2 separate regions of the Homo sapiens genome follow, and region 1 is linked to region 2. Evidence: promoter capture Hi-C in 16 types of primary human blood cells and fetal thymus (Javierre and others, 2016). All regions are on one chromosome and are shown on one strand. The core of a region is centred on a gene start or on the middle of the fragment in contact, and the rest is flanking DNA. Distances in the headings are between cores, read along the strand shown. Region 1 overlaps CDH5 (cadherin 5). Region 2 holds the start of TERB1 (telomere repeat binding bouquet formation protein 1).

Region 1 (3,467 bases), core at 915-3,414, 400 kb before region 2:
ATAATTAAATTTTTAATTTTAGGAATTTAATTACAATTTTTTTAATGCACTTAGGTGGTTTACCTTTTTGATTCTCATAATCAAAGTAATACCTCAGTAAACCTTATGGATGAGATTTAACACCTCCCCCCACCAAACTCCTTTTATCCAGAACACCATCCTGGGCCTCTGTTCCACAGCCTCCTCCTGCAAAAAGTGGCCTCCATAGGGCAGCCCTCCTTCCACACATCTTCCACCGCCCAAGGCCAGCATCAGCTGAGCCCATAATGGTGACAGTCTTCTCCCCTGCAGGAACCCCCACAGGAAAAGAATCCATTGTGCAAGTCCACATTGAAGTTTTGGATGAGAATGACAATGCCCCGGAGTTTGCCAAGCCCTACCAGCCCAAAGTGTGTGAGAACGCTGTCCATGGCCAGGTGAGTCTGGTTCAGGTGGGAGGGGAAGGCAGCACCACCCTGGGGCAGGCTGGGGGGCAGAACTGCTCAACAGAGTCAGCAGGAGTTCCCCTGTACAATAGCCTTGAGGAAAATAACATTATGCCCATTTTACAGATGGAGAAACTGAGGCTCAGAGGGAATATATGGGGAGTAGATTGGCGGGGCAGGGAAGTAGAAAGAATGGCTTTATGAAGAACTAAATAGGTGAGTGTTGCAGGTGGGAAACAGCCATGGTCAGGACTTAAACCCAAAGGCTCCATCGCTAAACCTCAGACCACCCCACCACCCCACCACCATCACTGACCATCTCCTGTCTTCCACACTCCAGCTGGTCCTGCAGATCTCCGCAATAGACAAGGACATAACACCACGAAACGTGAAGTTCAAATTCATCTTGAATACTGAGAACAACTTTACCCTCACGGATAATCACGGTAGGCATCAAAGTAATCAGTTCAGCTGGGCGTGATGACCCACACCTGTAGTCTCAGCTACTCAGGAGGCTGAGGCAGGAAGATCGCTTGAGCCCAGGAGTTTGAGGCTGCAGTGAGCTATGATCACATCACTGCACTCCAGCCCGGGCGACAGAGCGAGACCCCGTCTCCAAAAAAAGAACAAATGCAGTCAGTTGGCTCTAACAGGGTCGGGGTGAGGTTATTTGAGTCTTGAGGCACCAAGGTCAAAGACCAGGCCAACAAATTGAGGGCAGGCTCCCACTGGGATTTTCAAATCATTAGATATTTTGTACAATTTCTGCCACATACATTGTACAATTGGTCTATGCAATGGTCAGAGACACTCCATCCAAACTCCCAAGTCCACGTCGCCTGCAAGGAGCCAGCGAGGAGTACAGAACAGATGTGAGGATGCAGGCAGTCAGCTCAGTTCAAGAACTAGCCAAGGAGTCCCCTCCCATACTGGAGGCTCTATGGGTCAGCAAAACTGCACATTAAACATGGAACTTTGAGGTCATTCCCAAAGAGTCAAAACTGGAAATGTGAAATCCTAAATCCCAAGGATCCAGTGAGCTTTGTTTTAATTCAGCTACAACGATTACTCACGATTAGCAGGGTGGCCCGTGTGATGGCATTAGCAGCCAATCAGAGCTTCTGAGGAGTAGGTGCTGACTTAAGTGATGATGCTGAGTTGACTTCATTCCAGCCACAAGTAGGCAAGCTTCCATGGCCTCTGAAATTTCCTCAAAAAAATAGAGAAAATTCCCCTTGGGTTTAAATAGAGTGATCCTTCACCTAGCATGGGATGGAATTCCTGCCTGTCCCTAATGGGCAAAACTATGGTGGATGAGGATGGCTGTATTGCAGCAGCCCATTACTACATTTAAGGAAGACTGGGGAGTGGGGTCCCTGAAAGTTGGAGGCAGACTTGAGGGATCAACCACAGACCAGTCCTTAAGGAGACTCCTGTGGGATGGAGAAGGTGGCCCTGATGTGTTGACAGTCAATGACAGACCATTCAACACCCAGTTGTCATTAGAAGTAAATAATGTGGCAAAAATGTCACCCCCTCCCCAATGTCCACCTCAGTCCCATCTCAGAGTGGGGATCTGCAATACAGTAGAAAGATTCAGTGCCACCCCAAAGACACCCATATACAATAGGAGGCAAGTCTGTTGGTGTCAAATTCACTTATATCATGAACATCCTGCATGTCAAAATCTCTAGTTTCTCCCATAAGTGTCAATGACATATAGTTTATTTTGAAATATAATAGACTTAATGCTGAAATGTAATTATGAATAATGAAATATAATTGGCTTTCATTCAAAATCGAAAAGATGGATTCCTGGGTTTTTCAATCCAGTGTGTGGAGCCTGTGTAGCTAAGTAAATCCTGGAGTAGGGAGTTCCTGGATCCTTCTCTGATCGTTGACATTACAACCTCCTGGGACCCTGCAAAAGGCAGATTATCTGGCCTCTGCCCAGAACCACTGAATAAGAAGTGTGTGTGAGCATAGGGGTCTGAAAATCAGCATGTTTTAAAAGCTCCCTGGGGGATTCTTGGGTACAGGAAACCACTGATTGGATCTGGGAAGGTGGGCGGGGCCAATATTTGGACAAAAGCATTTCCCAGTTCCAAACTGCCTGGGAAACCCGCAATTCTATATGTAATCATTTTCTCTGTGCCCCAAGGGACATGTCCATTGTTTTTACTGTTTTCAACAATGTAACAATGGATTTTCAGAGAGAGCAGAAGCTGCCTTAGAAATTAGCCTAATGCTAAAAGACTTTTTAAAACTTTATTTTTCCCCGCTGCTTGTCAAAGCTTGAAACGGAGCATTAATTAATTGAGCTGAAAGAGAAAACCTCCTGTTACTGGAGTGGGGTTAGGGAAGAGGAAGGGGAGAGGCATCAGTTGCCCACAAATACAGAAAGCAAAGGATTTGACCTTCTTTCACCAAGGCATCCTTGGAGATTGGGTCAAAGCAGCTGCCCCAAAATATCCCCTCTGTGGCGGAACAGACCTGCACTCAGATGGCTGAAACAAGAGGCGCTGGGTGCAAAGGGCAGAAAAGCAGCCCAGGGAGCACGCAGGCTGGTGCAGTCAGGGAGGGCTTCCTGGAGGAGCCAGGTTTCCCCATCTGTGCAGATGGCAAAGCCTGACTCCGAGGCCTTGGTGTTTCCAGATAACACGGCCAACATCACAGTCAAGTATGGGCAGTTTGACCGGGAGCATACCAAGGTCCACTTCCTACCCGTGGTCATCTCAGACAATGGGATGCCAAGTCGCACGGGCACCAGCACGCTGACCGTGGCCGTGTGCAAGTGCAACGAGCAGGGCGAGTTCACCTTCTGCGAGGATATGGCCGCCCAGGTGGGCGTGAGCATCCAGGCAGTGGTAGCCATCTTACTCTGCATCCTCACCATCACAGGTCAGTGCTGGGCAGGGTGGGGAGAAGACACAGTGGGTGGAAGGGGATGGAAGGTGTTGGGAGGCGGGGAGGCTTCACAGGAAAAGTAGAGGCCAGAGGTTCAGGCCCAACCCTGCCTCCAATCTGCAATGCAGCCCTTAG
Region 2 (3,360 bases), core at 673-3,172:
CTTGGTAGCATTAACACAAGTCATCTATTTACTTGAGAAGTGCTTACAAACACCCATAGCAAAGGATAAGTTATAACTTTCAAGGGATTGATAATCAGAAAATTATATTTAAAATTATAAAACAAGTATATTCTCAAGAACAAAAGCATCTGCCATATAAAGCAGATTATGAAGTGCTTTTAGTAATTTAGTGAATATATGTACTGCCACAAACAAGGAGATTTCAAAATTCTTTACTGTATTCTCACAGGAAAAAAGGATTTTTTTCTGGATGACAGAGAGAACCTCTCCCACTTACACGTTTCACTCAACCCACTCCCCAAAACAGTAGTGTTAACTCAAATTCAAATTTCAGCAAGAAAAGTAGCTGAATATTACTTGTTTACCTGATTTAGAAAATGTATACAAAAGCTTTTGGGGGGCCGGGCGTGGTAGCTCGCGCCTGTAATCCCAGCACTTTGGGAGGCCGAGGTGGGCGGAAGACTTCAGGCCAGGAGTTGGAGACCAGCCTGGCCAACATGGTGAAACCCCGTCTCTACCAAAGAAAAGTACAAAAATTAGCTGGGCGTGGTCACGCACCTGTAATCCCAGTTACTTGGGAGGCTGAGGTGGGAAGATCCCTTGAGCCCAGGAGATGGAGGTTGCAGTGAGCCAAGACCGCGCCACTGCACGCCAACCTGGATGATGGAGGGAGACCCTGTCTCAAAATAAATAAATAAAAATAAAGAAAGTTTTTTTTTTTTTTTTTTGAGACAGTCTGGCTCTGTCGCCCAGGCTGGAGTGCAGTGGCGCCATCTTGGCTCACTGCAACCTCCGCCTCCCGGGTTCAAGCGACTCTCCTGCCTCAGCCTCCCCAGTAGCTGGGATTACAGGCGCCCACCACACCAAGGCCAAGAAAGCTTTTTGAAATCGAAATATTATCCCAGTATATCAGAAAGATAAATGGCATCTTTTTGTGTAAGGCTGGCAGGGCTGATAATCCCACCACTAAATTGTTTTTTGTCAGCGGATATCCAGCTTGTAATTATATATAGCGAAAATACCCTCTAAAGAAGACGCAAGAAGAGAGAAGGGGCAAATTTGTTTTCGATCGTTTAAACGGTCAAGAAATAACAGTCATTCAGGTCCCAGAAAACGCACTGTGGGTACCAGAAGTCAGCTGGCTCTGCAATATGAACACCCCCCCACTCCAGCCCAGAGCATAAATCCTCAGGGCCTCCTCCCAGGTTCCACAGGTAACAGACACGTAACCTTTCCAAGGCGGGGGCGCTCACCCCGCCCGGCTTCCTGCCCATTCAGCCTGCGGCCCGCTCACCTACAGAGTTGGATGAATTCCTTGTGCAGAGCTTAGGTGGCCCCTCCAGGCTCCTCTCTGACCAGGGCTCGCAAGTCCTGCGTGGGAGCAGGACACTGGTTAGCCGCGCGGGCCACTCGTGAGCCATCAGCACCCTCAGCAGGCCCTCCCCGCTCAGGTGCTGTGTGACATGCGGCCCGGCCCTGGCCCTGGGAAACGACCTCACCGGTGGGTCCCACCCTCTCCACACATCAAAGTCACCTGGGGAGGCGCCTGGGGAGTCAGAAGTGAAATAGGGGGGAATACTGCCAGGCTTTACACGTCTCTAAATGGTGCATCACGTGATGACTGTCTCTTCCCGCCAAGGGCTGTGGGGACTACAGCCGGGGCCTGGCACCTGCTCATAAAGGCCCCGTCCCCCCAACTCGACCCTTCTCACGTGGGCTAAGGGCCTGACGGGGCGGTAAGACATCCTGGCCGGCCCAACCCGCCTTACACAGGCGCCAACATACAGAGTTTCCAAGCGCGGTAAGGCAGGACAACAACGCGCGGGAGCGGAGGCCGTGGCGTCTACCCTCAAGCGGGAGCTTCCGCCCTTTCTTCATCACCGCTCACCTGCCACGACGCACGACAGGGTTTCCCGCCCAGCCGACCAGGCTCACGTCCGTGGGCGGGACTTCCGGCCGGCAGCCCCGCCGCCCCTGCAAGGTGTCTTACGCTTCCGCGGGTGCCCTAGGTTGCCAAGGGCAATGGGGTGGTCGGTGTCCCGGCCGCAAGATTTTTTAAAAAGCTACAATTTGAAAGAGAAATCTCACCGCCCCCGGTTTTTAGGGTTTTTACCTCAGACGAGCATTAGCCCCAAAATTAGGGGACTGTGCACGCGGTTGACGAGGCCTGGCTATGGGACGGTGGCCGCGAAGCACAGGACGGCGAAGCCCCAACCTCCCCTCCACCTGGCATCTGTGCTGTGTGTTCTCCCTTTTGTTGGGCACCTCGCTAATCGTCACCACAGCCCCACAGGGGCAGCCAGGCCTCCACCTCACCAGGGGGCTTCCGGAGTTCAGTCCAGGAGGACTTCTCCGCGCCTGGACCAAAGGATCAGAGTGGGGCCAAGGCCTGTCCCTTGCCGCCTCTGCCGTAAAATGCAGCCCATGGGACTGCTAGGCGATGAAGGCGAGGGGAAGGTCCCCGATACAGTGAAGAACAGCCAAAGAATGGCTGACACATTAGCGTCTGGAAAACCAAGTCCCTGTGAGGTACCCTAGCAAATCTAACAGGTTCTCACTTAAGAGACGCTGGCCTCAGAGACAGTTGCAGCAGATTAGGGGCCTTAGCTACTAAGAGTCATGCACCACGGACCACGTTCCTCAGCCCTAAGTATTAATACATCAAGCCCAAAACCGGGAACTGCCCCCACTTCTGGATTCTGGATTTCCACTCTGTTTGCATCTACTACTTCCTTTTTTTTTTTGCCCTCTAATATGCTGGTGAATGCTATTAGTCCCATGTGATTAAATTTAAGAGTATATATAATATGAGTAGAATGACCCCATAAAATTTCAAGAAGTAGGTTAGGCAGCCAAAACTCAAGTTAATTAAGATAATACTACATACAAGGGGATGGTCTTGTTTTCTGGGAAAACTACATATCCAGAAATATCTTTTTAAATTCTATTCATTTTAACAAATGATGATGGTCCTAAAATGTCCATAGCTAACATCTGCACATGGCTTAAATTCATTATTGAAGATGGTAAGAAAAAAAATTTTTAATTATCTCTAATAAAACACAAGGATAATCTATGACAAGTAACTTTGAAATAGCAAGCCAATATTGATGCTCAGTGAGAAATGGATAGGATTCATTTTCTAGGAAAATGACTGTCTCCTTTCCCCTCCCCACAAAGAACAAGACTACATTATTACAAATGAGAAAAATGTTTATTAAGAAAACAATTTAGCAGCTCTCCTTTAGAATTTTACAGACTAAAGCACAACCCGAAGGCAATTACAGTTTCAATCATTAACACACTACTTAAGGTGCTTGCTTACTCTACAACTGGAAA

The links. The method cuts DNA at HindIII sites, captures the fragments that hold promoters and counts their contacts. A CHiCAGO score of 5 or more calls a contact.
Region 1: a fragment that was not itself captured here is called in contact with the fragment with the promoter of TERB1 in region 2 in 2 of 17 cell types (M2 macrophages and total B cells); the score reaches 6.1 in M2 macrophages.

Annotation. Positions count from the first base shown.
Region 1 is chr16:66,397,691-66,401,157 of GRCh38, forward strand. CDH5 (cadherin 5) reads left to right here. Exons shown (of 12, transcript NM_001795.5): 9 at 292-416; 10 at 766-871; 11 at 3,081-3,326. Among named protein-coding and RNA genes, the nearest start is that of LINC00920, 9.1 kb to the right of the region's middle. The HindIII fragment of the contact is 1,106 bases long and covers 1,612-2,717 here.
Region 2 is chr16:66,799,662-66,803,021 of GRCh38, forward strand. It overlaps TERB1 (telomere repeat binding bouquet formation protein 1), which reads right to left and starts at 1,923. Exons shown (of 19, transcript NM_001136505.2): 1 at 1,807-1,923; 2 at 1,316-1,392. It overlaps NAE1 (NEDD8 activating enzyme E1 subunit 1), which reads right to left. Exons shown (of 20, transcript NM_003905.4): 20 at 3,217-3,360. The coding sequence ends at 3,348. The HindIII fragment of the contact is 6,773 bases long and covers 898-3,360 here.